3 separate regions of the Homo sapiens genome follow, and all the other regions are linked to region 2. Evidence: promoter capture Hi-C in human tissues and cell types (Jung and others, 2019). All regions are on one chromosome and are shown on one strand. Each heading gives the region's core, a stretch centred on a gene start or on the middle of the fragment in contact. The rest is flanking DNA. Distances are from core to core; before and after follow the strand shown. Region 1 has its middle 57 kb from the start of SHISAL2B. Region 2 holds the start of RNF180 (ring finger protein 180). Region 3 overlaps RGS7BP (regulator of G protein signaling 7 binding protein).

Evidence for each region. Contacts are between HindIII fragments. The study calls those that stand out against the background at their distance.
Region 1: a fragment that was not itself captured here is called in contact with the fragment with the promoter of RNF180 in region 2 in 1 of the 25 tissues and cell types used here (H1 embryonic stem cells).
Region 3: a contact is called between a fragment that was not itself captured here and the fragment with the promoter of RNF180 in region 2, in 2 of the 25 tissues and cell types used here (dorsolateral prefrontal cortex and mesenchymal stem cells).

What each region holds. Positions count from the first base shown.
Region 1 is chr5:64,631,703-64,634,402 of GRCh38, reverse strand. No RefSeq gene overlaps it. Among named protein-coding and RNA genes, the nearest start is that of SHISAL2B, 57 kb to the left of the region's middle. The HindIII fragment of the contact is 4,791 bases long and covers 1-2,700 here.
Region 2 is chr5:64,164,576-64,167,275 of GRCh38, reverse strand. RNF180 (ring finger protein 180) reads right to left here and starts at 1,433. Exons shown (of 8, transcript NM_001113561.2): 1 at 1,323-1,433. The HindIII fragment of the contact is 11,374 bases long and covers 1-2,700 here.
Region 3 is chr5:64,595,781-64,598,480 of GRCh38, reverse strand. RGS7BP (regulator of G protein signaling 7 binding protein) reads right to left here. Exons shown (of 6, transcript NM_001029875.3): 5 at 46-116. Among named protein-coding and RNA genes, the nearest start is that of RGS7BP, 91 kb to the right of the region's middle. The HindIII fragment of the contact is 5,660 bases long and covers 1-2,700 here.

The DNA.
Region 1 (2,700 bases), core at 20-2,519, 470 kb before region 2:
CAAACTTTAGTCAGGCTTCTGAGCTTCTTCCTAGGCCCATCTGTGTACTTCCTTGTAAAAATCCAGGTGTAGCAAAGAACTTGCTATGTCAGTTTAGCAATAACCCTTCATCCTTGACCTCTGATCATCCTTGATCATTCTCCACCATCTTCTGGATGATGTCTGATCAGCCTGGCTGGTCTTCAGCAAGAATCCTGTTAGATTGGTTTAGCCAGAATCCCTCCTACCCCTGATGCTTCCTCTCAGTAATTTTCCATCCTCTGACCCCCACCTTGCTCCCTGGCTATAAATTCCCACTTGCCCATGGTGTTTTCAGAGTTGAGCCCAGTCTCTCTCCCACACTGCAAGATCCCATTGCAGTGGTCCCTGTACCTACCATGATGGTCCTGAATAAAGTCTATACCATATTTTGACAAGTATCGTTTAATATATATTTTTAACAGGCTTCAGAAGATGTGGCTGCCTTTCCCCCCAACTCTCATGTTCTACTCAATCTGTGCAGAGTCCTTTTTTCACTGCCACCCTTCTAAGACATACCAGCTTGCCTTTCAGGATAAAGGTTCTCAGATCCATTTCCTTCTTGTGTGGAGTTGTTGCACTTTGACCTGATGTGCCATGTCTAGAGTGGACAAGTGACTCCTGAATATCTTCTTCAGAAATATTATTTCTCTGAGCTTCAAGTCAGTGACTAGTAAAATAAAATGACAAAAATAGAAATATTATTTCTCACATCCACTACAATTTTGTCAGCCAAAATGACTAATAATATCAATTATTGGTGAAGATGTGGAGCACCCGGCATGCTCTGACATTGCTGTTGGAGTATAAAATAGACAACTGTGGAAAATTATTTCCAATGAAATTAAATATATACCTATTCTATAACATGGAAATTTCAGATTATATTCTACTTCTAGATAGATATCGAGAAGAAATGAGTACATATGTCCACAAAAAGAACATTCACAGCAACCTTATTCATAAAAGCAAAAACCTGGAAACATACAAATATCCATCAACTGGACAATGGATAAACAACTGTGGTCTATTTATACAATGCAGTCTCAATAGTAACAAAAGGACAAACTACTGGTGCATGAAACAATGTAGATTATTCTCAAAAACCTTACGCAGAAGAAGTCAGACACAAGAGTTCATATTGTATGGTGCCATTGACACGAAGTTAAAGAACAAGCACAATTAATCTGTGGGCACAGAAATCACGATATTGTTTAACTTTTGTAGGGGAATGTTGACTTTATAGGGTTACGAGGAGAACTTCATAGAATGAGATCGAAGTTTTTATATATTGGCCGGGTACAGTGGCTCATGCCTGTAATCTCAGCATTTTGGGAGGCTGAGGCGGGCAGATCACTTGAGGTCAGGAGTTTGAGACCAGTCTGGCCAACATGGCAAAACTTCATCTCTACTAAAAATACAAAAATTAGCCTGGCCTATGATGCATGCCTGTAATCCCAGCTATTCGGGAAGCTGAGGCATGAGAACTGCTTGAACTCGGGAGGCAGAGGTTGTAGTGAGCCGAGATCGTGCCACTGTACTCCAGCCTAGGTGACAGTGAGACTCTCTCTCTCTCTCTCTCTCTCAAAAAAAAAAAAAGTTTTTATATCTTGATTTAGTGGTGATCACATGTTGGTGTATAGAAATTGCAAAATTGTTAAGCAATAAGATTTGTACATTTTGTACTTCATGTAAATTATGGCTCAGTAAGGTACTGTTAAAATCTCCTTTCCTTTCCTTCAACTCTTCTACCAATTAGAATTCCATTTAGGTTTACTAGCTCCTCTTTTTAGATCATACTGATAGGGTTAGGTCAGCCTGGAGTAGTTTGAGGAAGCAGGCGGGAGGTAGGAAATTTCCAAAGGCAGCCGCCTCCACTTTGTAACTTCAGTCAGGAGTCAAGTGGTGGCAACTGCTTCAAATGTCACAAAAGAACATCTCCACCTACTCCTTCTGTACCCGGATGGATGTGGCTAGAGAAGAAACACAGCTGTGCTAATTTAGTCTCATATTACATTTTTCCCCAGAAGTCTCAAGTGGGCCCTCTGCAAATCCTTGCAATTGTATTATATTTCATGAGTAAATTTACTTTCCTACTTCCAAAAATTATTTCATGCCCTAACTCTCTCTCTTCAAATCAACAGCACCCTCTCAGCTCTGACTTTGTTTCTTATTTCATTGAGAAAATAGAAGCAATCAGAGGAGAACTGCCTCATTCTTCCATCACCAAGTAGATCAGACTACCTGTATTTGTATTCACACAACCTGACTTCACTCCCATTTCAATGCATCAGTGATTATCAACACGAGCTATATGTAGAATTTTTAAAATGCTGATGCCAAAATCCCACTTCTAGAGATTCTGAATTAATTAATCTACTGTGGGACATCTATTTTTTTCTTTCAAAAAAAATCTCAAGGGATTTTAATATACTGGTGGCATTTAGAAACAGGAATTTAAAATTCCTGTTTGAGTCCCTACCTAAGGGCAAGTCCTCTACTTATAAAGTGGATCCTACACTCTCTCTCACCTTCTCAAAACTTCATTCCTTCAACGAGCTCCCCTCCTTCCTACATGATCAATATTTCTCTCCTGGCTAGATAAGTCCCATCAGCATACAAATATACTCTATTGTCTTAATAATCCTTCTTTCTTGGCTCCACCTTTTTCTCCAGCTGCTC
Region 2 (2,700 bases), core at 184-2,683:
AATTAAAATGACTATTCTCCTAAATTTTTGATTCTTTATGAGAAAAAACTTACTCAAATATTCCGGGAAACCTAACAGCTCGCCTCCTCGATTCTACTTATTAAATAAATATTTAGAGTTTCTGCCATTGTCACCAAAGTATCTTTGGGCTGCCAGTGGCACTACATTTATACAAGAGACGAAAGTCTGACAGATAAAAGACAACGGAATTTTACTTCTTTCTACGACTCAAATGATACCACTCATTTGAAACTGAAGTGTTTATGATCTTTCAAGTATCACTTTTAGGGGTACTATAACAGGAGTCTGAAAGGAATTGACTCTATTTTTTAAGAAAGGTTTTAACAATTAATGAGTATATAAAAATACAATGAGCATCAGACCGTCCATCTTTGAGAGCTAAATTTTGTTTGAGACTAAGAGACCAACTGGACCAAGGACAACTCTAGTCAGACAAGTTCTAATCACAGATTCCACAAGGATTGACTGCTTAGTTTTGATATAATCACTTTGCCTCTTGGGTGCCTCAGCTGTCTGGTCTATAAAATGGGATAATAGTAACCCGACCGCATAATGCTCCTTTGAAGTTAACTAATGAATGCTCTCACAGATACACTTACAACTGTTAGATGCTACGAAAATAATGAGCACTATCTCGAAAAAAAACAAGGTGGAATATATGTGTTAGTGTTCATAACAGCACTAGTAATTTCCCACCAAAGGACCATCTCCCCACCTCCGCCCGATGGATTTCAGAGCTTATGACCTCTGCCTAGCAGAAAGTCGTACACTCCGGACCCAAGGCTGCAACAAAAGCGACTGCGACGCCGATACTGAAATGGGCTAGACAAAGGAAAGTGGAACCGTGCAGAGGGAATCGGCCGTGGAAGGGGCTGTGTGGTCCCCACAAGCTCCGAAATTAAACAAGACGCAGTTCCCCACCTCAGACCTGGAGAGGGTTCAGTACTGGACCCCTGGCACCCACCCCACCTTCCCCGGCCTCCTCCGCCACACCTACAGCGCCTCGCCTCCAGGACTCAGCTTTTTCGACCCTGTGTAATTCCAACCTCCAGGTGGGCGCGCCCCGAGGCCGCTCCGAGAGCCTCAGGTGCGAAAGTTAAGCCGCGGCCGCGTCACCTGAGGCCCGCCGGGCGAGAGGCGGCCAGGCCAGCGGCAACCCTAGCCCAGCCCCTTGGCACGTCCCCGCCTGGGCCAACGTGGGGGCCCGGGCCACCGCGGCTGGGTAGGGCCCGGCCGAGGCCAGGTCCCTCCGAGAGGCGCCGCCGCCGCGCCCCGCCCGACTCCGACCCGCCGGCCTTTACCTGTATCCACGTCCCGGAGCCTCCGGCTTCGCGCCCCGTCCCGGCGCTCCCGGCCGCCAGCAGCCAGGCTCTGAGGACTCGCTGCGGCTCCGGCGGCGGCGATGCCGGTTCGGCGAGACGGGAAGCGACAGGAGCCAAACCCCGCGGAAAGCGCTCGAGCTGTGCCTGCAGCCCCGACCCCGCGGCCTCGGACGTGGCGCCCCGGCGCTCGCCCGCCACAGCCAGCGGCCCTGCTCGCCCCACGTCTGCGGGTTCCCACCCGAGCCGCGCGTGGGCGGCGCCGGGCTTTGACCCCGCGCAGGCAGACAAGCGCCGCGGGCCAGACGGAACCGTGGGAAAGTTTTTCTCCCTTGTCATCCCCTTACCAGAGCCACAGAAATTATCCCTGTGGTCTCCCTTGTCCTCACTCGGCCTTTTCTGGAGTTAAGAGATCCAAGCCAACTACTGGGTCTGTTCCCTGCTAAAATCTTAGGCCGGCGTCCCATCCACCCATCCCCATGCCTAGGACTTTTAAGCTGGCAACGCTACCTGGGTTTAGTTTTCCCTTCGTATATCACTATCTTCGTTGCTTACCTTCTTGTGCCTAAAGTTCCACCGATGTGCAAGGAGATTAACCACTAAAGTGCACCTGACACTACTCTTGACAAATTGCAGTTGGGAGGTGAGTTGATGACTGGCGGTAAATCAAAAGTGCTTATTTAGGGAGTGAGGGGGCCGCGTGCAGTAAATGTTGACTTGCAGGTGCCTCATAGATGATCAAACGACTATAAATAAGATTCGGAATATAAAAAGCAAGTTTTATTAGTTGGCTTGAGGAGAGGGAAGGGAGCTAGGAGGGAACCTCAAAAAAAATATACAGCTTTGTTTCTCTGCTAGATACAGAAATTTTTATTTGCCTGAAGTGGCTTACTTGGAAACTTGTCCTAAGATTAGGGCTGTATGCAGTGACTTCCCATCTGGAAATACAAGGAAATAAAGAACAAAATGAAAGACATCACGAGAAAACTACAGACCAATATACCTTATGCATAGTAACATAAAAATCCTCAACAAAATACTAGCAAGCCAAACCCAGCAACATTTTAAAAAATTATACAACATGACCAAGTAGGATTTATCTCAGGAATGCAAGTTTGGTGTGACATACAAAATTAATGTAACACACTACTTTAAATAGACTAAATGTAAAAACCACATGATCATCTCAAAAGATGAAGGAAAAGCAATTGACAAAATCTAACACCCTTTCTTGATATAAACACTTCAACTAGGAATAAAAGGAAACTTCTTCAACCTAATAAAGAGCCTCTGAAAAATCCATAATTAACATCATACTTAATCTTGAAAGAATGAACATTTTCACCTAAAATCAGGAATA
Region 3 (2,700 bases), core at 120-2,619, 430 kb before region 2:
CCATTAAAAACATCCTCTGCCTCAAAGAGAAGTGACAAGACTCACCTTGATTTTTCAATGGTAAAGGCATAGTTTCCCTGAGTTTGCTTAAAAGGTTTTTCATTTCTCTCATGTCTCTGTAAAATTGATAAAAAGACAGAATAATCAGCTGTAAATTTTCAAAATGAAATCTCAAACAATCTGTTATATGAGACAACTGAAAGATGAGGGTCTGTGTCTAATTGCACTAGCTCTAGTTTCCAGTAGGCAAATATTGAATTTATTTTGCTTTTACAAGAAAAAAAATCTGAGATGGGTTGGCTCAGGAAAAAGTGAGAGCCATTCTGCCAAACATTTCTACAGGGCATTCTCCTGCAGGAGCCCTCATCTCTGCCTCCAGTCGAACCTGGCTGAGATCAGAGAAGAGCCATTGGTCACGAGGACAGTGCTTTAGATTTGCAAAGAGAGGCCAAGGAAGTACAACTGGAGCAACAGGGCTACCCAGGGCAAACTTGAGGCTGGGTGATGGTGCTATCAAGGCTTTATGGTCAGAGGACTATAGTGGCTATGTACATTCACTTGCTGTTATTTGCTCGTTTGTTAAAATTTGTGTAAATTTAAGGAGTACAAGTGTAGTTTTGTTACTTTGACATATTGCATAGTGGTGAAGTCTGTGCTTTTAGGGCATCCATCACCCCAATAATGTACGTTTTACCCACTGAGTATTTTCTCACCCCCCACACCTTCCCACCCTTCTGAGTCTCTGATGTCTATCATTCCACACCCCATGTCCATGTGTACCCACCATTTAGCTCCCACTTACAAGTGAGAACATGTGCTATTTTGTTTTCTGAGTTGTTTCATTGAAGACAATGGCCTCCAATTCCATCTTCTGCTTGGTTTTAATAGTCTCTTGTTACTACGATTGGAATTCAGCATAACTCAGGTATTAAGCGTTCACCAGGACCAACACTTATTACATTGACTTGGAATAATGAAAGAGTAACAAATTCTAAAACTTCCAGAAAAGAGCTCCTTACAATGGATGAAACAGAAAGGGGCGCAGTATGGGAACAAGAGGGAAAACAACCCCACCTGGGTACAGCTGGGCCTTCCTTTAGCATGGACCGTCCTCCCACACTTCCTGACTTCAGCACACAGCATGCAATGCCACTGCATACATCCAATATCTTCCCTCATCTCAGAGCATGCATGGTCATAAAACCCCAGAATTGTAAAGCAGGAAGCCATCTCAGGAGGCTTCTAGTCTAAGGTAGGGGAGAACTCATCTTTTGAAACCCTTGGGACAATTGTCCCTACACACGTCCAGATGGTTGTGCATTGGAGAAAGTGCTCTTGAGACCCCAGGACATAGGGGCAGATTTCATTTAAAATAGCCAGGAACATAATTTGGTACAAAAAGCAGATGCATCCTTTAATTAACTGAGGATAGGCAAGCATTGGCAGGCACCATGGGTTTAGGAAAGTTTTGTGGGGAAGATCATCTTAAAGTTGAAGAAATTCTATCCACTTATTTTTCTTCTGTTATTTGAGGAAAGACAGTCACCATTTAATTTTAGGTATGAAACCTCTCAGTCCATTTCACAAAACACCACAGTTCTGTTGAGCACGGTTTGAGGATCGTTTTCTTAGGGTAATTCTGGAGACCTCATGGGAGCTCCTTTTCAAGTATTGACTGATATGTGAAGAGGAACTCAAGTCTCAGTAATAATTGATTGGAAAAGGAAGGGAAAGCAGCCTTGAGGATCTGCGGAAATATACCTGTAAAAACTTTCCAAATCCACTCTCATGGGTGCGAGGTGTGAGGATGTATCTGTGGGCTGCATGCTGATCAAGTGAGAGAGGAGGGCAGGAGAAAGGAAGTGTGGCCCCACCTCCACAAGTGCAAGGCACAGTCTGTTTTCATGTAAGATCTCAAGGACAGATGGAATGGGTGAGAAAGGGCTAGGAATGCAACATGGGGGATTGAGGCACTGTCTCCTCTAATAAAGCACCAATTCTCAACCTTGGCTGCTGCACAGGAGAATCACCTTAAGCCCAGGTCTCACCCCAAGAGAGCCTGATTCAGTTGGCTTATAGTGGGGCCCAGCCATCAGTATTTTAAGAATTCCCTCCTGATGACTTAACTGTGCAGTCCAGTTTGAGACCCATGATCTCTCAAGGCAGACAGCCAGGGAGAACGGAGTTAGCCACATCCTGGACCAGGTCCACTGTGCCCACCTCCATCTCCTTTGACCAGAATCTGGGCTTTCAGGCTGAACTGAAACATTGCCAACGTTGTGGGCCTTAACTATCCTACTCTTACTGCCATCCCTTCTTATAAGCTTATAAGGCGTGAATATAGCTGCTGTCTAAGGTCTGCAAAGTAAAATGGTTTCACTGATGTTTATGCCCTGATATGGCATTTCAGCAGATATTTTTTTCCCTGGGAACAGAGCTAAGAATTTTCTACTTTATAAATTAAGATAAATCACTCCCTCATCATTTGTCTATAGTGCCATCAAACGGTGCCAAACAGCTTTATTGTTTGAATTGTTGCATTTCCAAGCTTATACAAAATCCAAGTTTTATTAATAGCACATAATTACCACATGCTCCAATTTTCTATAAACACAGAAATTCGGTAATTAGCTTTAGAATTATATCACAATCTGAAAGTAGAACCACAATGGCTATAAATGCCATTGTGTGTTACATTTC